2 separate regions of the Homo sapiens genome follow, and region 2 is linked to region 1. Evidence: promoter capture Hi-C in 16 types of primary human blood cells and fetal thymus (Javierre and others, 2016). All regions are on one chromosome and are shown on one strand. The core of a region is centred on a gene start or on the middle of the fragment in contact, and the rest is flanking DNA. Distances in the headings are between cores, read along the strand shown. Region 1 holds the start of NRXN2-AS1 (NRXN2 antisense RNA 1). Region 2 overlaps RPS6KA4 (ribosomal protein S6 kinase A4).

Region 1 (3,251 bases), core at 332-2,831:
CCCTGTCTCCGTTCATCTCTGCAGTCTCTATTGATCTCTTACATACCTCTGTCTTTCCCTTCTTTTTTACCCTCTATATCTCCCCCTCCCTTCTCAGCCTTGGCCCCCCCATCTCTCTCCAGTTCCCACTCACTGGTATTGATTGGCCTCTAGGCGGTTTCCCTTCCTTTCCTCTCGCCACCGGCTCCTCCCTCCCTCCCTGTGGAACCATAAATTTTCTGCCTGCTCAGAGCTGTGTCAGTCTATATTCCAGATCCAGGGGCCCAAGAACGTGATAGAGAGGGCAGGAGGACGTGGCCTCTGGGGGCCCCAGCCCTGCTCCTGGCATGCAGTCTCTCCTCCAGCACTGCATGGCTCGGGGCCCTGCACCACCGGAAGCCTCCTCTGGGTGCCTCTGAGGACCGCTTTCTTCACTTCTAAAGACCTGGGGGCCAAATCCAGCTCTGGCATGTAGTAGGGATGGAGGACTGGCAGCAGCATTGGGGAGATGTCCTGGGTCCTGACTGCATCCTGGAGCTGGGGGTGGCACATGGGGCTCGTGGTGACAGTTTTTGCTCCCAAATGGAGTTTAGAATCAATAAATAGGAGCCAGCTCTCTCCAGCCCCTCCCAGCCTCCTCTCTCCCAGCCCTCCCCTTTCTCACTTCACCCGCCCCTGCCTCCTGTCCTTTCCTTACCCAGCCCTCCTCCTCACTCCGCTGCACTGTTTCTTCAGCTCCCCCAGGTGCCCTCTCCACCTCTCTCCTCCTTTCCCTCCTCCTCTACCCTCTGCCTTCCCACCCTCTCCCCTGTCCGAGCAGGTTGGTGCATACGACCCGGTGACGGGAAAGGAGTCTCTCTGTGCTTACCTCTGGGGCCACAGGTGCTTTCCAGAGCGTCCAAAAGTTTGGGGGACAGAACCCAATTGGAGGGCATCCTGAAGGAGAAGTGGTTTCCTCAGCTTGACATACGTGGCCCAGGAAGGGTTTTGTCCTAAATGGGACACTCAGTGGGCAGGTGTCCTCTAGACCCCCCATGGAGGGAGAGGTTGGGGCTGGGGGAGGGGCAGTGGTAGTGGAGAGGAAGGATTGGAGGAGTCCAGGAGAGGCTTGTGCAGGGGGCTGGGGGAGCAGCTTTTTGGGGAGGTGGTGGGGAGTTGTACGTGTGTGGCATGTCTTATTCCTGAGTACCTCGAAGGCTCTGGGTGCACTGTATGCTGTGGACCCTATTTTGGAGGGTGAGCTTGGGGAGCAGGGGTGTCTGTGTGTATGTTGGCCATTCATGTCCTGTGATCAAACGTGTGTGTGCACGGATGTATGCCCTGTGAGCATGTGTATATGCTCCCCTGAGAGTAAGTTGGTGTGCCAGTGTCTGTGAGCACATGCATGCATGTATGTGTCTGAGCCTGTGTGCCTACCCGCACACTGTGCCCATATGGGCACGTGGATGTTTCCATACCCAAGCCGATACACATCTCAGTGTGCACGTGCGTTGCGAGGGGTGGTGCAGAGGTGGCCGCCGCGGCATCTCAGCAGGCTGTGCCAGAGAGCATTATTGGGGTTCATCCGGGTGGGGTGGGCGGGGAGGAAGAAAGTGGCCTCTCTTGCTAGCCTCAATCCCGTTCCATTATTCAGCAGGGTCCCTTCTCCAGGAGGGGGGTGCAGGAGGAGCGCGCGCGTCCAGGCGCGGGGGAGGGGCGGGCGCGCGCAGAGGAGAGGAGAGCGCCGAGCGGGCTAGCCAGGTGCCGCGCGGCTGAGCTGCCCAGCGCCGCCCGCAGATCGGGAGCCGCTCTGGTCCCTCCGCCCTGCCCCCTCCTCCTCCCGCGCTTCCCCTCCCCTCTCCGCTCTCCTCCTTCCCTCCCTCCCTCCCTCTCTCCCTCTCTCCCTCTCTCCCTCCCTCCCTCTCCCTTCCAGCCCTCTCAGCCTCTGCAGCAACACTTCGCTGCCTCCATCTCTCCGCCGGAATCTCGCAGGCTCGCGCCTTTCCTCGGCTCAGCCCCGCTCCCCTCCTCTCCTATCCCCTCCTCTCCTATCCCTTCATTCCCCCCTCACCCGGATTTGCTTCCCTTCCCCCTTCTCCCGCCCCCCCCTCCCCCGGCCGCTCCCTCCTTTCCCCCGGCCTCCGTCGGGCGGCAGCGGCAGCAGCGGCGCGGCCGGCCCCAGTCGCCGTCGGTCTCCCGCCTTCGGGGGAACCAGGTCTCCGTCCCTCTTCTCTCCTCCAGCCCGCACCGCCCCGCTCCCCAGCTCGGTTTTTCCGCAGGATTTCCCTCGCTCTCCCCTCCCTGCTTGGCCCCCGCGCTCCCCTCCCTCTCCACTCGGCACCATGCCCCCTCCCCCGGGCGCTCCCCCGGGTTTCTGACGGCCCTCTGCGCCGCTCCGACCCCGCCGGGATGCAGAGAGACCCCTAGCTCCTCGCGATGGACCCAGGCATCCTGGACCTTGGCGTTGCCGCTCCGCGGACCCCCGATTTCCCGGCGGGATCCAGTTGATTTTGTTGGCTCCGGACCGAGGCTTGGGCCCTGGTTTACCTCCGCTTCATCCCTACCCCGCTCCCGGAGCTCGGAGCCGGAGGGGGGCTTCGCGGGGCTGCGCAGCCCCGCGTCCCCGCCCCCGGCCATGGGGCTGTGAGGCGGTCGCCCCCGGGCCGAAATGCCCCCCGGGGGGAGCGGGCCGGGGGGGTGCCCGCGCCGCCCCCCGGCCCTGGCTGGGCCCCTGCCGCCGCCTCCACCGCCGCCGCCGCCACCTCTGCTGCCGCTGTTGCCGCTGTTGCTGCTGTTGCTGCTGGGGGCGGCCGAGGGGGCCCGGGTCTCCTCCAGCCTCAGCACCACCCACCACGTCCACCACTTCCACAGCAAGCACGGCACCGTGCCCATCGCCATCAACCGCATGCCCTTCCTCACCCGCGGCGGCCACGGTAAGTGGCACTGTAGATGCCGGCCACCCGGTTGGCCCGGGGGCGGGGGGCGCTTCCCGTGTGCGCAGCTGGGCCCCCGCGGGCCCCACCCCAGCTGTGCACGCCGAGCCTGGCCCCTCTGCTTTGCGTCCCGGAGCCCCTTCACCTCCAATCTCCAGCTCCCATCATCTCAGCCCCACCCTTGCCTCCATCTCTCCTCTCCCCCATCACCCTCATCTCTGTCTTCAGCACTTTGCTTCCTGGCCTCACCTAAACCTGCTTACCCCTAGGTCTGGTTCATTATCTCCTTCTACTTCCTTACCCTCCCCGCCCTGTCTGTCCTTTCATCCTCTCCGTGCAGCTCTGCCTTCCATTTCTCTT
Region 2 (3,251 bases), core at 437-2,936, 280 kb after region 1:
CCCAACCCAGCCCAGCCCAGCCCACCTGCATCATAGCGCTCCTGGCCACCGCTGCCCGACCTGGCCGGTCTCCAGCACCAGGCGCTTCCAGCCCATCGGTCATCACCGCGTTGTTGTGGTCAAAGAGAATGGAGGGTGCCACAAAGGAGTATCCCTGCAGGGCGGGAGTCCGGGGAATGGGCATGGGCATGGGGGTTGGGGGTGCGGGTGAGGAGACTCTGGTGGGGAACCAGGCAAAGGCAAGACCCTGGACAAGGGGGCAGTGGGGGGTGTTCCAGTTGCATTCTGGTACACACAGGATGTGTGGACACTTTTTATTCCACCTGGTTTTATAATCACTTGGGGCCATGTCTGTCCCCACCAGCCTGTGACCCCAACTTTCTCATCAGAGTGACCACTTATTCCTCCCCAGGTGCCAAGGGCTGAAGGCACTGAAAGGACCAATGAATATATTGAAAGTGTGGCCTGAGTTCACGCTTAGCTTATGAGAATCCAACTCTATCCGCTGAGGAAAAAAAACTTATTCCTCCCTTTCAAGCCGGACTTTGGCTTCTTCTGCAAGGGGAGCTACTGAAGAAATGCAAAAAGAAGGCAGAGTTAATTCTTTGCTTTTCCTAAAGATCCATGTCCTGGCAATTTGAGGAGCTTTTAAGGGTCATTTTAATTGCGTGTTGTGGCCAGGCACGGTGGCTTGCGCCTGTAATCCCAGTACTTTGGGAGGCTGAGGCAGGTAGATCACCTGAGGTCAGGAGTTTGAGACCAGCCTGACCAACATGGAGAAACCCCATCTCTACTAATAATACAAAAATTAGCCAGGCGTGGTGGCACATGCCTGTAATCCCAGCTACTCGGGAGGCTGAGGCACGAGAATCGCTTGAACCCGGGAGGCAGAGGTTGCGGTGAGCCGATATCATGCCATTGCACTCTAGCCTGGGCAACAAGAGCGAAACTGCGTCTCAAAAAAAAAAATTAATTATCTGGGAGTGGTGGCACTTGCCTGTAGTCCTAGCTATTGGGCAGGCTGAGGTGGGAGGATCACTCAAGCCCAGGAGTTCAAGATTGCAGTGAGCCATGGTTGCCCAACTGCACTCCAGCCTGGGCCACAGAACAAGATCCTGTCTCTAAAACATTAATTAATTAATTTTAAAAAATAATTTTAAAAATAAACTATGTGTCATCTTCTCCTAAAAATGTAGTACCCAGATCCGTACCTGGAATATTTTAGGCACTCACTACACATTTTTGAATCATTAAATGAATGAATGAAAGTACCTACCAATTCAAGAGAAAGAACTTTATCATGAGGGCTGTGAGACAATGGAATGGAATGTGGACATTCAAGCACAGAGTTGTCAATTCTAAGAGCTTCAGAGAAGGGACTTATCCAGCCATACTTGGTCTGTCTATTAAACAAACCATACTGGTTTATTTAGTGATAATGATATAATATCATTATGGCAACATGATAAACTGCACAGAAGGAGATGCTGTCCACAGAGGACTGCAGCACAAAGAAAGGGTGACCCCCTGGGCCAGGTGAGCAGACAAGGAGGCCTAAAAGAGGGGTAGAAGCTTGCCATGTAGACTGCTGTAGAGAATGTACTCCAGGTAGCAGGAGCAGCAAGTGCAAAGGCACAGAGGTATATTCTGGAACCTCTGAGCAGTTCGATCATGCCCTCCAGAGCATCAAGTAGGAAAATGATGAGAACTGAGGCTAAGGTTCTAAGCAAGGACCACATCATGAAGGGCCTCAATGCCCAAGCAAAGGGAGTTTGGACTTGTCCAAAAGGTGTAAGCTTCTAAAATTCAGTAGAGGGGGCTTGGCATGGTGGCTCATGCCTCTAATCCCAGCACTTTGGGAGGCCGAGGTGGGCGGACCACAAGGTCAAGAGATTGAGACCATCCAGGCCAACATGGTGAAACCCCATCTCTACTGAAAATACAAAAATTAGCTGGGTGTGGTGGCGCACGCCTGTAGTCCCAACTACTCAGGAGGCTAAGGCAGGAGAATTGCTTGAACCCGTGAGGCAGAGATTTCAGTGAGCCAAGATCTAGCCACTGCACTCCAGCCTGGAGACAGAGTGAGACTCCGTCTCAAAAAAAAAAAAAAAAAAAATTCGGTGGAGGGGACCTGACCCTCCAGGAGTGTACCATGCTATGCCAAGGGCATGCAAAGCCACAATATCAACATGCATCTCCTCCTAGGTGTCCACGTGAGAAAGTGAAGATCTCTTTTTTTTTTTTTTTGAGACGGAGTTTCACTCAGTCGCCCAACCTGGAATGCAATGGTGTGATCTCTGCTCACCGCAACCTCCGCCTCCCAGGTTCAAGGGATTCTCTCACCTCAGCCTCCCGAGTAGCTGGGATTACAGGCGCATACCACCACATCCAGCTAATTTTTGTATTTTTAGTAGAGACGGGGTTTCCCCATGTTGGCCAGGCTGGTCTCGAACTCCTGACCTCAAGTGATCCACCTGCCTCAGCCTCCCAAAGTGCTGGGATTACAGGTGTGAGCCACCACACCCAGCCGCAAGTGAATAATTTCAAACAATATTTTTACATAACAATAAAGAGATGATGGAATAGAAGGGAAATTAACAGAAGGTTTAAAGATAAACCATGAACTATCAAACACACATCCTGCCTGGGTGGTCTCTGTGACTGACAACCCTAGGTCCCACTGAAGTGGCGACGTCTAGGGGAGACGCTGAGTCCCAATCAGGACACAAGGCCTAGGCAGTGTCCTCGGGCCAGCCAGGGCTGAGGCAGACAGCAACATCTCATCTCTCCTGCATCTGGGTTCCATGAGTTTCCCCTCACCTGAAAGATTCGGGGGTCCCCAGGTGGGGGGCTGCCAGGGGGTGAGTAGACAGGCTCCAGCCGAGTGAATTCCTCCGCAAAGTTGCCCACATCCAGCTCTGAGCGGATTTGGGGCCGGAATGGGGCTGGAATCTTCCTGGCAGCCAGAGCCACCCAATCGAGGCCCTGAGGGAAGGGAATCAGAGGTCAGGTGTCAAAGGCCAGGAACGAGAAACTCCCTCCACTCAGCCCACCCTCACTGGGCAGTTCCTCCATGAGGCAAGGGCCCATCTGGCATTTGGGGTGGGCAGCTGTTCCTCCTGCCTCCCTGGCTTCTCTCTCCCTCTGGTAACACAATCCCTATTCCCCTTAGAGAACCACCATGACACCACACTTAGTCAGTTCTGGAACTTTTAATAGAATTGGTGTGAAAAGGTCGGGCGTGGTGGCTC

The links. Contacts are between HindIII fragments. The CHiCAGO score rates a contact against its expected background, and 5 or more counts as called.
Region 2: a contact is called between a fragment that was not itself captured here and the fragment with the promoter of NRXN2-AS1 in region 1, in 5 of 17 cell types (M0 macrophages, naive B cells, M1 macrophages and 2 more). The highest score is 7.4, in M0 macrophages.

Annotation. Positions count from the first base shown.
Region 1 is chr11:64,642,179-64,645,429 of GRCh38, reverse strand. NRXN2-AS1 (NRXN2 antisense RNA 1) reads right to left here and starts at 1,581. Exons shown (of 3, transcript XR_001748259.3): 1 at 848-1,581. All of the region lies in intron 17 of NRXN2 (neurexin 2), which reads left to right. The HindIII fragment of the contact is 13,173 bases long and covers 1-3,251 here.
Region 2 is chr11:64,365,035-64,368,285 of GRCh38, reverse strand. RPS6KA4 (ribosomal protein S6 kinase A4) reads right to left here. Exons shown (of 17, transcript NM_003942.3): 9 at 2,821-2,985; 10 at 26-154. Among named protein-coding and RNA genes, the nearest start is that of MIR1237, 1.9 kb to the left of the region's middle. The HindIII fragment of the contact is 224 bases long and covers 1,575-1,798 here.